Linked DNA regions of Homo sapiens: all the other regions are linked to region 3. The links are contacts of gene promoters, found by promoter capture Hi-C in human tissues and cell types (Jung and others, 2019). All regions are on one chromosome and are shown on one strand. Each heading gives the region's core, a stretch centred on a gene start or on the middle of the fragment in contact. The rest is flanking DNA. Distances are from core to core; before and after follow the strand shown.

Region 1 (3,798 bases), core at 647-3,146, 190 kb before region 3:
GCTCACCTAATCATCTGACTCAGGCTGGAGACAGGATGGGCCACAAATGGTAAAAAACCTGTGTGACGAAGATCAGTCCAGACCTGAGAAGGAAAAGGAAGAGTTAAATGCCCACATATCTTCAGGTATGTGCCAAGTGCTACATTTTTGGCTCTTGGGAAGATCTGGCATCTCACCTTTGCTGGATTGCGGGCAGCCAAAACAGTTAAGCAGTTGACACAAGAAGCAATGACATCCACAGGTGGGGAGATCACTGTCGTTAACCTGGTTGGAGAACAATACACTATACTCAATAAAGCAAATAATACAACTGGTTCCCTCACAAACATTTTTCCACTTCTCTCTCCCCAGTCTCTCCCCTCAGCAGACATATAAAAACAGGAAAACCCTCACAGATATAAAAACAGGAAAACCAAGGAATATGCGCGAACTTTAACCCAGTGGGTATGTGTCCAGGTTCCTGCAAACTGAGGGCACAAGTGCTGAGATCTCTACTGGGCAGCTGAGGGTCAGCCAAGACAGACTCACCGCTGCAGCAGCATGTAGATGCGAGATGTGATGGGCAGGAGACAGTCTGCTATCGACAGGTCTGTACTGATGACCTTATGGACGAGATCAATGATGGGTTTGACTCGCTGGCAGTGCTGAATCACATCTGAGAAGAAAGACAGCCTGTGACCTCACGGCAAACAACCCCTTTAAGATCACTGAACAGTCTCTGAGACCCAGATACACAAATCAGACAAATCACAATCTTGATGGTTCTAAATTTTATGTAGATATTCTATTTTCTAAATCCTCCAAGCATATCCACTTTTCCTCCTCGTAGGTGATGTTTCCGAAAGCTGACCTTACCTGCAGTTGAAACAACATGAAGCAACATTTCAATCTCGCAGGTAAAGAGGGTCCAGCTGCTATAGGAGTATTCCCAGCGTACCAGGTATGCCCTATCATCCAACATTACTTGGCCCACAGTGCCTTGAGGTATGCGAAGGTTGGTTTGACCCCCTGAGAGAGAAAGATAAATTAGTCTAATATCTGAGGATAAATAAAAAATGTAACTCCTCTACCAGACATCAATATTTTAAACACACAGAGATACACAAACTCACAGACATTTTTTTTTTTTGAGACAGAGTCTCCCTCTTGCCCAGGCTGGAGTGCAGTGGCGCGATCTCGGCTCGCTGCAACCTCCACCTCCTGGGTTCAAGTGATTCTCGTGCTTCAGCCTCCCAAGTAGCTGGGACTACAGGTGCGCACCACCACTCCTGGCTAATTTTTGTATTTTTAGTAGAGATGGGGTTTTCCATGTTGACCAGGCTGGTCTTGAGCTCCTGGCTTCAAGTGATTTGCCTGTCTTGGCCTCCCAAAGTTCTGGGATTCACAGGCTTTCTTCTTAGTAGCTAACATTCCTAAAGCTTTTTCAACTAAAATACACAAAAAAGTTCTTGTCATGTAGACAAGTGTCTTTTTTTTTTTGAGATGGAGTTTTGCTCTTGCTGCCCAGGCTGGAGTGCAATGGCGCGATCTCAACTCACTGCAACCTCTGCCTCCCAAGTTCAAACGATTCTCCTGTCTTAGCCTCCCGAGTAGCTGGGATTACAGGCATGCACCACCACGCCCGACTAATTTTATATTTTTAGTAGAGACGGGGTTTCTCCATGTTGGTCAGGCTGGTCTCGAACTCCCGACCTCACGTGATCCGCCCACCTTGGCCTGTAATCCCAGTGTTGGGATTACAGGCGTGAGCCACTACACCTGGCCGACAAGTGACTCTTTCTATATGTCTGAAAATCACTTGAGTGCAAAGAACAGTTTTCCATTCAAATGATGATAACAACAGTACCTCATAGGACTGTTAGTGCCTAGATGACTGGAGAAGTCAGTGGTGATGATGCCAGGATTAAAACGGTGAGGCTATTCCCTGTATATTTTCCTCTTTGAGCACCTGGTACAGATGTGAGCCTCAGAGTGTAACTGCCTGGATGCATTGGCTCACGTCTATAATCCCAGTGCTTTGGGAGGCTAAGGTGGGAGAATCACTTGAGCCCAAGAATTTGAGGCTGCAGTGAGCTATGATCTTGCCACTGCACTCCAGCTTGGGTGACAGAGCAAGACATCAAAAAAAAAAAAAGCTGTCATAAAAGGGGGATCTCTTTATCTCACCAAGGGGATAAAGGAGTTTGGGTGTTTGTCTCCGCCAAAGAGTTCCATCTTCATGGGAGATCACATCATGAGGCTTGTGTTTATAAAGTTCATTGTAGAAAGACATCTTATCCAAGAAGCTATACACCTGCCAAAACAGAAAAAACCATCACACATTTCCCTCCAGGATAAGCAAGGAGAGGTCCCACAGTCTGCTCTTTCAACCAGACTCTCAAACTTCTTGCAAGCCCACCACTGTGACTGTTCTTGGAACTGCCTTCTGCGCCCCTCGCCAAATCTTCACTGGGCTTTAACACTCAACTCAAGTCCCCATCACTCCACAAGGGCAGTTATCTCTCCTGAACAGTATGGTCTTTATTGCTCAAATGACATTTACTCTGTACCACCTGGCTCTTAGCTATTTATTTCTTATATCTAGTAACTTCCAACTAGATATTAAGGAACTTTATACTTAGTCTTAGTCCCACAGTATCTACAATAGGTACTTAATGAAAAGATTATTTAATTTTTTAGAATTGAGGTGCTATCTTTGGTATCTTTCATTCACCTTCAGACAAACTTTTGTCATGGCAGTAGAACTGCAATGTGGAAAGCAAAAAAGATTCCTAATAAAGTCTCCATAAAGAATCTCCCATTCTCTTTACTTATCTGACTAAGCAACTTACCTTTTTGGCTGTGGACTTCCCTGATACCAGGGCTCGGAGCAGTTGCAGGAGTGGGGAGAGAAGGTGGGGAAACATTCCACACACACTGTCCAGAATGATCCCAAGGCCAGAAGTTGGCTCCTGTGGTGGAAGGGGACAAATCACTGATCTTCACATTATCCACAAATTAACATCTCTCCAAATTTCCCAGCAATCATGAGAAAATTTAGAATTAATCCTTCCTTTTAGACAGATATCATCCCTCCTTAATAATTTAAGACTTTCATATTTCCACTGAAAAAGGATATAAAATAATTGATTTAGTGAGGGACCTAAAAAAAGATTACTATTCTATCCAGTGACCTCTTCCCAGCCATCCTTTCTATGGGAAGACAGTATTGTTCACCTGTGCATTACATGTTTCCACTAAAGTGCAAATTACCCAACTATGTCAGCAGTTGGCTACCACACAGCAACCACAGATCCTCACTCTAGATACTGTTTCATACCAGCTTCTCCTTCTCCCAGGAGCACTGTGGTTCTATAACATCAGACAGCATCTTACAAAAAAGAGGGTAAAATACACAGGTAGATCATCAGTTGGATCTTGAGGTTTGAGACTGTTGTCAATGCTCAGAGCAAGTACTGGTGAGAAATTGTTCTTTTCAAAGCCAAATTCTCACTCTAACTAGTTACAATACCCTGACAACTCATAGGCTACGGTTACAATCTCCTAAAAGCACTTTCAAGAGCTGCAGGAACACTGGTGTCTAAAACACTGCCATATATAAAAACAAAAAACTGGTGGGTTGGAAGGCCGGGCTCAGTGGCTCACGCCTGTAACCCCAGCACTTTGGGAGGCCGAGGCTGGCAGATCACGAGGTCAGGAGATCGAGACCAGCCTGGCCAACATAGTGAAACCCCGTCTCTACTAGAAATACAAAAAATTAGCCAGGCATGGTGGCGGGCGCCTGTAATCCCAGCTACT
Region 2 (4,128 bases), core at 642-3,141, 240 kb after region 3:
GATTTAAACCATCAGCTGACTGGCTGTCAGGCCTTTGGACTTAGACTAGATGAAATAAGTCTATCTGTGCTCCTGTAACTTTTAGCTCAACCCATCAAGTGCTCCAGGTGCTTAAATCGCATTCTCGATTGAATTAAAATTCTACCTTCAAGTCACCTATGTTGAAAACATGTTTAGAGTCAACATTCCATCCTTGCTACAGGTCGATGGCTTCAAGGTAACCTTAGTCACCAGGGTCCTGTTTTCAGGGTTGTAGGTTCCAGAGGTTGATTTTGTCACCTCATCAGAATTGTAAGCATGTTTTTTTGCAGGGTGAAAAGAGAGGTATCTGTTAATTTTGAAATAGTTTCCAATTTACAGGAAAGTTACAAGAATACTGGGAAGAAATCCCATATACCCTTCACCCAGATTCCCCCATTTGTTAACCTTTGACCACATTTGCTTTATTATTCTATGTTTACATATATAGACACACATAACAGCTGTATACATATACATTGTCATACACACGTGTATACATATATATGTATACACATATATATCCCCTCCCCCCAGTCATTTGAAAATAAGTTGCAGGCCGGGTGTGGTGGCTCATGCCTGTAATCCCAGCACTCTGGGAGGCCGAGGTGGGCAGATCACCTGAAGTCAGGAGTTCAAGACCAGCCTGGCCAACATGGCGGAACCCCGTCTCTACTAAAAATACAAAAATTAGCTAGGTGTGGTGGGTGCCTGTAATCTCAGCTACTCAGGAGGCTGAGGCAGGAGAATCGCTTGAACCCGGGAGGCAGGGATTGCAGGGAGCGAGATCACACTACTGCACTCTAGCCTGGGCGACAGAGCTAGACTCTGTTTCAAAAAAATAAATAAGTTGCAGACATCATGCCCACTTACCTCAATGTATATTTTCCAAGAATAAGAACATTCATTTTCATAACCACAGTACAATGATCAAAGTCAAGAGATGCATGTTGACACAGTACTATTATCTAATATACAGGCCTTATTCAAGTTTTACCAATTGTTCCAATGTCCTTTATAGCAAAAAACACACCCACAGAAATATCTTTATTTTTAGTGCAGGTTCCAATCTAGGATCACATGCTGCACTGAGTATAAATATCCTGAAAGAACTAAAAGAAAAAAAAAGTTCTTGAATACATCCTTCTGGAAAAAACTGATACTTTCTTAAATGGAGGCTGGCTTTAAATGAAAGGATAAATCCCTTTATAATGGGTGTTTTTGTAAATGCATCACATAGCCAGGAAGACTATAGTTCTAATCTGCTTTTTTTCCCCCTAGAGATAGCGTCTCACTCTGTTGCCCAGGCTGAAGTACAGTGGTACAATGATGGCTCATTGCAGACTTAACCTCCTGGGCTCAAGCAATCCTCCTGCCTCAGTCTCTCAAGTGGCTGGGACTACAGGCGTGTGACCTGTTTTTTTTGTTTGTTTTTGTTTTTTTTTTGAGACAGAGTCTGGCTCTGTCACCCAGGCTGGAGTGCAGTGGCGTGATCTCGGCTCACTGCAAGCTCCACCTCCCAGGTTCACGCCATTCTCCTGCCTCAGCCTCCCCAGCAGCTGGAACTACAGGCGCACGCTGCCACGCCTGGCTACTTTTTTTGTATTTTTAGTAGACACGGAGTTTCACCGTGTTAGCCAGGATGGTCTGGATTTCCTGACCTCATGATCCGCCCGCCTCGGCCTCCCAAAGTGCTGGGATTACAGGCGTGAGCCACTGCACCCGGCCGGCTGTTTTTGTTTGTTTTTTTTTTTTTTTTTTTTTAAGAGATGGGGTCTCACTGTATTGCCCAGGCTGGTCTCAAACTCCTGGGCTCAAGTAATCTTCCTGCCTTGGCCTCCCAAGTCGCTGGGATTGCAGGTGTGAACCACTGCACCTGGCTTAATCTACTCTCTGTAGGTCCACTGGAAATCTAATGTCAGGAATTCATTAGGCAGGATGAAGAAAAGTGAAGGGGATTACCAGGTGTGACATAGGCACTTGTAAGAAGCTCTGTGGCTCTTAGTGGAGCTTTTGGTTTTCCTGACACTGAGATAGAAGATGTCCAAGCCTAATTTTGTCACTGCTATCATCATAGAAAGCTGGAGAAGTAGGGGGAAAGCTCCTAGCACATGGGTGGGAAATCCTCAGAAATCTATTCTTCTATGTAAGGGAGGTGTAGAGTTTCTGTCCTCTTGGAATTTTTAATTTGTCATCAGATTTGCTTTAGCAGGACAATAATGTGACAAAAACATGGATCCTCAGCCTGATAAATGAGGTCAAGTTTGAAAGCAAGAAAGGAGACAAGTGAGTATTTGAATTAAAGCCGAAGGCAGTCCTTAGTATTCTGCTGTAAGGAGTCTGATGCTACTTTCCATCAGGAGCTGCATCTCTCATCTAGTAATCATTATCTCTATCCGTCAGTATCAAAAACCTGGACTCCCAGTGCTCTCCTTTCTTGGTTTACCATTGAAATCCATTAGGAATACCAGCATCAAATGACATATGCAAGACCACTAACCACTAGAGGAAGAATATTCAAATAATTCAAAAATCGTAAGAGGTATTTCATAAATTTTCTTTTTAATTTATTTATTTAAAATTTTAAAAATTTATAATAGAGATGGGGTCTCACTATGTTGCCCAGGCTGCTCTTGAACTCCTGAGCTCAAGCAATCCTTCCACCTTGGCCTCCCAAAGTGCTAGGGTTACAGGCATGAGCCATCATGCCCAGCCTAAGAGGTATTTTCTATGAAGTAATACAAATCCAAAGTGGAAGAGAAATTATAGATCATCTCATCCAGTGATTTTTCATTTTGTTTTTGACAGATGAACTTTTCCATACATAATCTTACATGGAACCATAATATATCATACAGCACATAAAACAAAAAGGCTGTGGCAGAGAGGATCCCAGAGCTCCATTAGAACCCCTAAATGGTTGTGCAAAACATGAGCTGCACAACTCTGGGAGGTACCATGACCTCCATCATAATTTTACTTTATTTTTTAAAGCTTTTCAGTGAAGATTGGAAAACCTGCTAGACAAATTCTAAAAGAGCTGTAACACTCATAGATTTGTACAGTTATTAACAGGGCAGTTGTCCAATAGAGGGTGGTAGTATCTTGAAGGAAAAGGGATGCCTTTTGGAAATTTGCTTTAAGCCTCTGTATGTTGACTGGCTACAGGGCTGAGCCCCATTCACTCAACATCCCCCTGTCCTGAAGTCATTGCTTCCCAACCTATTCCCTGTCACGGTACCTAGAAAATGATGCCTTTTTTTTTTCTCTTTTCTTTTTCAGATAGAGTCTTCCTCTGTCGCCTAGGCTGGAGTGCAGTGGCGCGATCTCGGCGCACCGCAACCTCTGCCTCCCGGGTTCAAGCGAATTCTCCTGCCTCAGCCTCCGGAGTAGCTGGGATTACAGATGTGCTCCACCATGCCCGGCTAATTTTTGTATTTTTAGTAGAGATGGGGGGGTTTCACCATGTTGGCCAGGCTGGTCTCGAACTCCTGACCTTGTGATCCACTAGCTTCGGCCTCCCGAAGTTCTGGGATTACAGGCATGAGCCACCACACCCGGATGAATTATGCCATTTTTAAGGCAAAGGTAAGGAGAGGAAATGTGAATGGAACCGCTCCTGGGGGCTCACCCACCACAGGCCTTGTCTGGGAGGGCTAATGAGGTCATCATGCCAAGGCACACCAGCTGGGAAGCTCTTCGCTAAGGAACTGCTATCAAGCATAGTTTGAAAACTACAGTGACATGTCCAGTTCTTTTGTTTTACAGGTGGGGATACTGAGGTTCAGAGCGGGTGAAGGACCTTCCCAAGGCCAAAAAACCTAAAAGTGATTTGAGCCGGGGTCTCCTGACTCCGTCCCCAGTGTTCATTCCATTGTGTCTACCTTATTTATTTATTTATTTTTTTGAGACAGGGTCTTGCTCTGTCACCCAGGCTGGAGTGCAGTGGCATGATCACAGCTCGCTGCAGCCTCGACCTCCCAAGCTCAAGTGATCTGCCCACCTTAGCCTCCTGAGTAGCTGGGACTACAGACATGTGCCACCATGCCTGAAAAATTTAAAAAAAAATTTTTTTTTTTTTTGAGACAGAGTCTTACTCTGTCGCCCAGG
Region 3 (3,785 bases), core at 319-2,818:
GGAGAGAACAAGGAACAACCCTGCAGTTAACCAAACTCACCAACACAGGAAGCTAGCTAAGGAATGAGGAAAGACTGTCCTGGGCTCAAAAGGTCCCAACTCTCATTCTCCAGGCTTCAGTCCTGTCCTGTTACTCTCAGGAATCTGGCACCTCCTGCGGAAAGCTTAGGAAAGCTTAGGGCATGCTAAGTGTGGCCACTGCCCCTCTGGGAAACCCCTCCAAGCTCAAGGCAGTCACTGCCTGTTCAGCTCTACAGAATCTGGAAAAGGCCCCAAGAGTCTGTGTGTAATTTCCTTCCAAGGCCCCAGCCCCCAGCAGCTGGGCCCCAGAGCTGACCAGGTGTGGCCTCCCCCTGTATTCTAGCCACAGGGCTGCTGTAGGGAAACCGTGAAAATACAGAATGGCTTCTTACCACTAAAGCTGAGTTCCCGCAGCTTTTCCAATGCAATTGAGGGCTCCTTCAGGACATCCTGGAAATCTGCAATTCTGGAAGGGGAGATAGGGCGGCAAATGAAGCATGCTGATATCGGCTCAGTGAGACCCACAGCCCTCAGCTCCCTCACACTGCCAGTTTCCAACCTGTGCCTCTCTCCCCTTTAGGACATAAAAATCACACAGCTTAGTCAAGGTCCTCACCAAAGACAGCTTTGGAGAACAACAAAACTATATTTCACTTCTTCCTCTACAACCAGAAACACAGAATGCCAGGGAAGAAACTTGAGAGATATTCTTGTCTAGAAGTTCCCAAATGAGGACCATAAAATTAGACATATTCCAACATTCTAATACTTAGTGAGCTGACATTTACTGGGCACTTCCTGCCGGCCAGGCCGGGTCCACGCACAGCCACCAACTGAACTCCTTGGACCTCAGGAACCAGGAGTAATTTGATATGCAGACAATGGACCATGCTCACAAATATAACCATTACAAGACCTCTGGGCCTGCCAGAAGGCAAGGACAAAGGGTTTAAAAAACACGTCCTGAAGGAAAACTGAAGAGTGAGCAAAATTCAGCCAATGCTGCAGGATCTGGCCTGGGGGAGGGGCCAGACTGGAGAATGCAAGTTCTCTAGCAATCCTAGTAAGAAAAAGGCACGGGGGACAGGGTGCACTTGGAGAGAGTACGGGAGCAGGGGGATCAAAAGGGGGAAAGGCACGGGGGCGGGGCATGGGGGTCTGGATGAGGAAGACTCAGGGGAAGGGGGACACCAGGGGTCCAGGATGAGGGAGGCAGAAGCAGTGACATCAGGGGCAGGAGAAGGGCCGCCCCTCCGTCGTTCCTGCAGCCCACAGGCAATGAGGTTAGAAGGTGGACGCTCGAGACCCTCTGCCGAGGGGGTCTGCCGATTCCTGGCCACACCCGCGCTTCCCCCTTCTGAGGGGCAGAAGGGGCAGCCTGGCCAGGAGTGGCCCAGCCGGGTCAGGCCCCATGGCCCCTTACCGGCTCTTGTGCAGACTTGACATGGTGTTGACTTCCGGACCCCCCAGCCGCCTCCGCCGCCTGCGCCTCTGCCGCCTGCGCTGCCGCCGCCGCCGCCGCCCCCCAGGGACGCGGGGCTCTGCGCAAAAGCCTCCGGCGGGAAACACAGCCACTAGCCTGCGCGTTCCACCGCCTCAGCCCCGCCCCGCCCCGCCAGTCACGTGCCACCCCTCGACTCTCACGCTTCCACACGGTACTGGCGGCTACGGCCGGCCGGGTTGAGCGGGGCAACCTCGGGTCTGGTGGGCGTGGCAATCGCGGGCCGGGAGCCCCAGCGCCGCCGACCCTGCGGGCCAAATTTGAGAACCCGCCGGTGACAGCGCAGACTGTGTGTCTCTGGACTATTCCTTGCGCTTCCCTGGGCCTCAGTGTCTACTTACGCAATATACCTGTCACCCTGTCGTCTTCCCTGCACTCACCCCCCTGTAATTAACTACTGCATGATTGTTACAGGAGTCTCGGCCTCCCCTGCTAAACTGTTCAGGCCCCCCAGCTTATCTTGGTCTCTGCAGAATCCTCAAGGCCTGTATAGCAGGGACTCGCATGAACCGCCGTGCGCGGCCCAACTTTTTTTTTTTTTATAAAAACTATACCAGCAAACCCTATAAAATGTAAGTTAGGAAGAAAGAAAAAAACACAAATGATATCTTAAGAAAAATAGGCTGGACCGGGCGCGGTGGCTCATCCCTGTAAATTCCAGTGCTTTGGGAGGACGAGGCAGGCAGACCACTTGAGGTCAGGAGTTGGAGACCACTCTGGCCAACACGGTGAAACCCCGTCTCTACCAAAAATGCAAAAATTAGCCGGGCGTGGTGGCAGGCGCCTGTAATCCCAGCTCCTCGAGATTACCTTCTTTACAAAAGATGTAAAAATTAGTTGAGTAGGCCGGGCGTGGTGGCTCACGCCTGTAATCCCAGCACTTTGGGAGGCTGAAGCGGGCAGATCACCAGGTCAGGAATTTGAGAACAGCCTAACCAACATGGTGAAACCTCGTCTCTACTAAAAATACAAAAATTAGCCGGGTGTGGTGACGCACAACTGTAATCCCAGCTACTCAGGAAGCTGAGGCAGGAGAATTGCTTGAACCCGGGAGGCGGAGCTTGCAGTGAGCCGAGATAGTGCCACCGCACTCCAATAGCGCCACCGCACTCCAACCTGGGCAAAAACGCAAGACCCTGTCAAAAAAAAAAAAAAAAGAAAAGAAAAGAAAAGAAACTGCTTAAAGATTTTCCGAAATGGTTGTATTATTTAACACCTTTTTCTTGAGAAAAAAAAAAAAAGAAAGAAACAGCTAGCCAGGCGCGGTGGCTCACGCCTGTAATCCCAGCACTTTGGGAGGCCAAGGAGGGCGGATCATGAGGTCAGGAGATCGAGACCATCCTGTCTAACACGGTGAAACCCCATCTCTACTAAAAAATACAAAGAAAAAAATTAGCCGGGCGTGGTGGTGGGTGCCTGTAGTCCCAGCTACTCGGGAGGCTGAGGCAGGAGAATGGCATGAACCTGGGAGGCAGAGCTTGCAGTGAGTGGAGATTGCACGACTGCACTCCAGCCTGGGCGAAAGAGCGACACTCTATCTCAAAAAAAAAAAAAGAAAAAGAAAAAGAAAAGAAAGTGCTTAAATATTTTCCAAAATGGTTGTATTATTTAACACCTACCCCAGCAGTATATGAGAGTTGCTGTTGTACCACGTCCTCACCAATACTTGATGTGGTCAGTCTTTTTAATCTTAGACATTCTAGTAGATGTGAAGTGGTATCTCCTGCTTTAACATGCATTTCCCTAAAGACATATGATGTTGAGCATCTCTTCACACGTTTGCTATGCATATATACTCTTCTTTCTTTTTTTTGAGACATGGTCTCACTCTGTCACCCCAGGCTGGAGTGCAGTGGCGCAATCTCAGTTCACTGCAACCTCTGCCTACTGAGTAGCTGGGACTACAGGCGCATGCCACCATGCCCAGCTGATTTTTGTATTTTGAGGTAGAGATAGGGTTTCATCATGTTGGCCAGGCTGGTCTCAAACTCCTGACCTCAAGTGTCTGCCCACCTCAGGCCTCCCAAAGTGCTGGGATTACAGGCATGAGCTACCATGCCTGGCCTTCTTTTTTTTTTTTCTTGAGACGGAATCTCACTCTTGTTGCCGAGGCTGGAGTGCAATGGGGTGATCTCCAGCTCACGGCAACCTCTGCCTCCCGGGTTCAAGCGATTCTTCTGCCTCAGCCTCCCGAGTAGCTAGGATTAAAGGTTCATGCCACCCTGCCTGGCTAATTTTTATATTTTTTGATTTAAAAAAAATT
Region 4 (4,116 bases), core at 11-2,510, 220 kb after region 3:
GCCTGTAATCCCAGCACTTTGGGAGGCTGAGGCAGGCAGATCACCTGAGGTCAGGAGTTCGAAACCAGCCTGGCAAACATGATGAAATCCTGTTTCTACTAAAGATACAAAAAATTAGCTGGGCGTGGTGTCGCGTGCCTACATTCCCAGCTACTCGGGAGGCTGAGGCAGGAGAATCACTTGAATCTGGGAGGCAGAGGTTGCAGTGAGCTGAGATTGCACCATTGCACTCCAACTTGGGCAATAAGAGCAAAACTCCGTCTCAAAAAAAAAAAAGTTTTAAATATATAATTTACGTACCATAAGATTCAGGCTTTGCTTTTGATAAGATTTACCAAGTCTCTGAAAGGGACTCATAACTTTAAGTACTTATTCTTTGATATCTGACTCCAGAATAACTATAAATTTTTGCCAGCAACATCACTATTATGCCTTCCTCAAAAACTCATTCCAGGCCAGGTGTGGTGGCTCACGCCTGTAATCCCAGCACTTTGGGAGGCCAAGGTGGGTGGATCACCTGAGGTCAGTTCAAGACCAGCCTGGCCAACATGGCAAAACCCTATCTCTACTAAAAATACAAAAATTAGCTGGGCACAGTGGCAGGCGCCTGTAATCCCAGCAACCTGGGAGGCTGAGGCTGGAGAATCACTCGAACCTGGGAGGTGGAGGTTGCAGTAAGCCAAGATCACACCATTGCACTCCAGCCTGGGCGACATGAGCGCAACTCTGCCTCAAAAAACAAAAACAAAACAAAACAAAACAAAAAACCTCATTCCAAGAGATTAACCCAGAACTTCCCTGAAAAATGTTTAAAGCTCACCAGTAGTATCAAGGCAGAGGTTTGAGAACCATCAGTTTAAAGCATCCAGAAAAGACAATTAATACCTCTAAGATTCCACATTCACCCTCACTAATACAGGAAAACAATGAGTTTGTCCTTCCTTATTATATTCTTCTTGTCCAATCTCTCAAGGTCATAATTAAGTAACTTTCCTCGTCTGATTTTTGGGTAAGAACATTTGGGCTCTTGAATTTTGGCAGGAATCCCAGGAGATCAGACGTACCTGCAAGTTGGTTGGGTCTTTATAATTCTCATCAGATGCAATCTGAAGTTTTTCCTGTATCCATTTCTCCAGCTCTTCAGCATCTCTTTGAAAGAACTGGAATCGATAGGAATCTTCCAGCTTCTGACGCCTAAGGGTTGAGAGTTCCTTGAAGCGGTGGTATCGGTCTAGGACCTGCTGCCGCCTCTCCTGGATGTCCTCTGCTGTTTCCAGCACTTTGACCCCACTTGGGTCCATTTTCTGAAATGACAAAATGCGCTGAGATAAGTACCAATAGGCACCAAAATAGATGAAAAGTAATTAGCCTCTCTGAAGGAAAGAAATAATTATCAGATAAACCCAGGAGACAAATGAATTGAGAAGACAGCCCCTTCTTAGGAACAATGAAGCCCAGATCCTATTTCTTTATTAAAAACGGCCATCCATTCCCCTGCAACACCTACCTACATAGGGCCCTCAGAAGATGCCTAACCCACACACGGCAAGGAAACCAAATGAAAACTGTGAATGGGAGAACTATGGTTTGTACTGTCAATTCTACAAAGGCTTCAAGGATTCAGAGGAAACAGCAACTGTGGTATTCAAATAATCACTGCTAAGTCCATTCAGAAGTCCTTTCAAGCAGGGGGTGCGGTGGCGCACACTTGTAATCCCAACACTTTGGGAGGCCAAAGTGGCAGACTGCTTGACTCCAGGAGTTCGAGAGCAGCTGGGCAACAAGGTGAAACACCGTCTCTACTAAAAATACAAAAAAATAGCTGGGCATGGTGGTGTGTGCCTATGGTACCAGCTACTCAGGAGGCTAAGGCAGGAGGATCACCTGAGCCCAGGAGTTCAAGACTGCAGTGAGCCATCATTGCACCACTGCGCTCCGCCCTGGGTGACAAAACAAAACAAAAACCGAAAACAAAGAATATGCCATTTTATCCTCTAACTAATTAAGGAACACAGAAGGAAACAGATACAGATTAACGCCAAAAAGCTTCTGAATTTGTCAGCAACATGTGACCTCACACTAGCCACCTTCCCTCTCCATGCCTCAATTTCCTAAAGTGACTAAAAATGTCAGGAAAAACGACGTGCTCTCAAGTCTCTTCGAACTTCAAAATTACAGCCTATAGAGAGGTTTTTGAGTTCACTAAGGAAGCAGAACAGATAAGCCTGCTGGTCCCTTCCAGCTATTGTTCTACAATGTATAATAAAAGGTATAAAATTGTGTTACCCTGGAAACATCTGGGAGTTCTTTCCTTTATCCTGTCGTCTATCCCAAGACAGAAAGAAAAGGGTGAGTAGGCTAAGAGTTAGGAATGAAACCTGTCAAGAGTGCTGCCCCACATCCACCTAGCAGGTAAACAGAAGGAGATGGCTGATGTCAGAGTTTCTAGCTAGTGCCCCAGCTCTGTAGGGATTCAAGCAGTTCTCATTGGTGGTAGGAAGGCACTGTCTGTGCCTGATCAGATCTGAAGATTGCCTTTCTAAGAGACCACCTTCCTGGAGAAGTGTAGATGAGCTGATTTTAGTCATATCACCATTCCTTTAAATTATTCTCCACATATCAACCATGTATTTTTGTTGTATTATTGTTTTTCCACAGTCCAAAATGTTTTATACTATAAAAGGAAACATTCTTCGCCATGCCACTCCCAAATCTTTTATGGCTTTTTTTTGTTTTTTGTTTGAGACGGAGTCTCGCTCAGTCACCAGGCTGGAGTGCAATGGCATGATCTCAGCTCACTGCCCTCTGCCTTCAGGGTTCAAGTGATTCTCCTGCCTCAGCCTCCCGAGTAGCGGGGACTACAGGCCTGCACCACCACGCCCAGCTAATTTTTGTATTTTTCGTAGAGATGGGGTTTCACCATGTTGGCCAGGATGGTCTCGATCTCTTGACCTCGTGATCTGCCTGCCTCAGCCTCCCAAAGGGCTGGAATTACAGGTGTGAGCCACTGCCCCCGACCTATGGCTTCCTTCAGACAGAAGAAAGAACCCACCTCTTGAGCAGGACCTTCACAATCTGGCCCAACATGCCTGCCTGGTATTATCTCTCACCCGTGACCCCTACCCTTGTGGCGGATAGAAGTATTCTTTCTGCTCTAAAATGTGTAATTCCCTTTAAAACTCCAAGCCATGTGCACATGCTTCCTTTGTTTAGAATGTCCTATGACTCTTCTTTGCCTAGATAGCGCTTATTTATTTATATCTCAACACCCAGCTGAAATGGGTAAACTGCAGGATCCTGACTCTTTACTAAACTGTACCCAATGTTCCTTCCTTCCCTCCTTCTCAGACGTAATCACACTTCTCTATAGATTTGCAAAGCAATTGTACATACATCCTAAGGTATGATTACACCGAGCAACCTAATATTTGTATACCAGATTTTTATTTATTTATTTATTTGTTTTTGAGACAGGACCTTATTTTGCTGCCCAGGCTGGAGTGCAGTCACGGCTCACTGCAACCTCGACCTCCCTGGTTCAAGTGATGCTTCCACCTCAGCCTCCCACTTGCTGTGACTATGGGTGCACACCACCATGACTGGCTAATTTTTTTTTTTTTTCTGAGAAGGACTCTTGCTCTGTCACCCAGGCTAGAGTGCAGTGGCATGATCTTGGCTCATTGAAACCTCTGCATCCCGGGTTCAAGCAATTCTCCTGCCTCAGCCTCCCAAGTAGCTGGGATTACAGGCGCCCATCATGGTGCCTAGCTAATTTTTGTATTTTTAGTAGAGACGGGGTTTCACCATGTTGGCCAGGCTGGTCTCGAACTCCTGACCTCGTGATCCACCCGCCTTGGCCTCCCAAAGTGCTAAGATTACAGGCGTGAGCCACCACGCACAGCCATGACTGGCTAATTTTTAAATTTTTTTTGTAGAGACAGGGTTTTGATAGGTTGCCTAGGCTGGTCTTGAACTCCTGGGCTCAAATGATCCTCCCACCTCCGGTCTTCCAAAGTGCTAAGATTACAGGTGTAAGCCACCATGTCCGGTCCTGTATCCCTGATTTCTAGCATACAGAGGTCATCAAGAAATGTTGGTTGAATAGGCCGGGCGCCA

What was found. The method cuts DNA at HindIII sites, captures the fragments that hold promoters and counts their contacts. A contact is called where the count stands out against the background at its distance.
Region 1: a contact is called between a fragment that was not itself captured here and the fragment with the promoter of TBC1D13 in region 3, in 3 of the 25 tissues and cell types used here (H1 embryonic stem cells, heart left ventricle and pancreas).
Region 2: a fragment that was not itself captured here is called in contact with the fragment with the promoter of TBC1D13 in region 3 in 1 of the 25 tissues and cell types used here (IMR-90 fibroblasts).
Region 4: a fragment that was not itself captured here is called in contact with the fragment with the promoter of TBC1D13 in region 3 in 2 of the 25 tissues and cell types used here (dorsolateral prefrontal cortex and thymus).

Annotation. Positions count from the first base shown.
Region 1 is chr9:128,979,759-128,983,556 of GRCh38, reverse strand. NUP188 (nucleoporin 188) reads right to left here. Exons shown (of 44, transcript NM_015354.3): 14 at 2,832-2,951; 15 at 2,167-2,293; 16 at 856-1,008; 17 at 529-655; 18 at 177-264; 19 at 7-83. Among named protein-coding and RNA genes, the nearest start is that of NUP188, 34 kb to the right of the region's middle. The HindIII fragment of the contact is 8,140 bases long and covers 1-3,798 here.
Region 2 is chr9:128,542,857-128,546,984 of GRCh38, reverse strand. It overlaps LOC101929270 (a long non-coding RNA gene), which reads left to right. Exons shown (of 4, transcript NR_188457.1): 2 at 3,301-3,606. It also overlaps the pseudogene RNU7-171P. Among named protein-coding and RNA genes, the nearest start is that of SPTAN1, 7.7 kb to the left of the region's middle. The HindIII fragment of the contact is 3,945 bases long and covers 1-3,863 here.
Region 3 is chr9:128,785,036-128,788,820 of GRCh38, reverse strand. TBC1D13 (TBC1 domain family member 13) reads right to left here and starts at 1,568. Exons shown (of 12, transcript NM_018201.5): 1 at 1,445-1,568; 2 at 414-487. The coding sequence starts at 1,467. RefSeq lists a silencer at 1,431-1,920. The HindIII fragment of the contact is 9,895 bases long and covers 1-3,785 here.
Region 4 is chr9:128,563,926-128,568,041 of GRCh38, reverse strand. SPTAN1 (spectrin alpha, non-erythrocytic 1) reads right to left here. Exons shown (of 57, transcript NM_001130438.3): 2 at 1,065-1,304. The coding sequence starts at 1,301. Among named protein-coding and RNA genes, the nearest start is that of SPTAN1, 13 kb to the right of the region's middle. The HindIII fragment of the contact is 4,499 bases long and covers 1-3,509 here.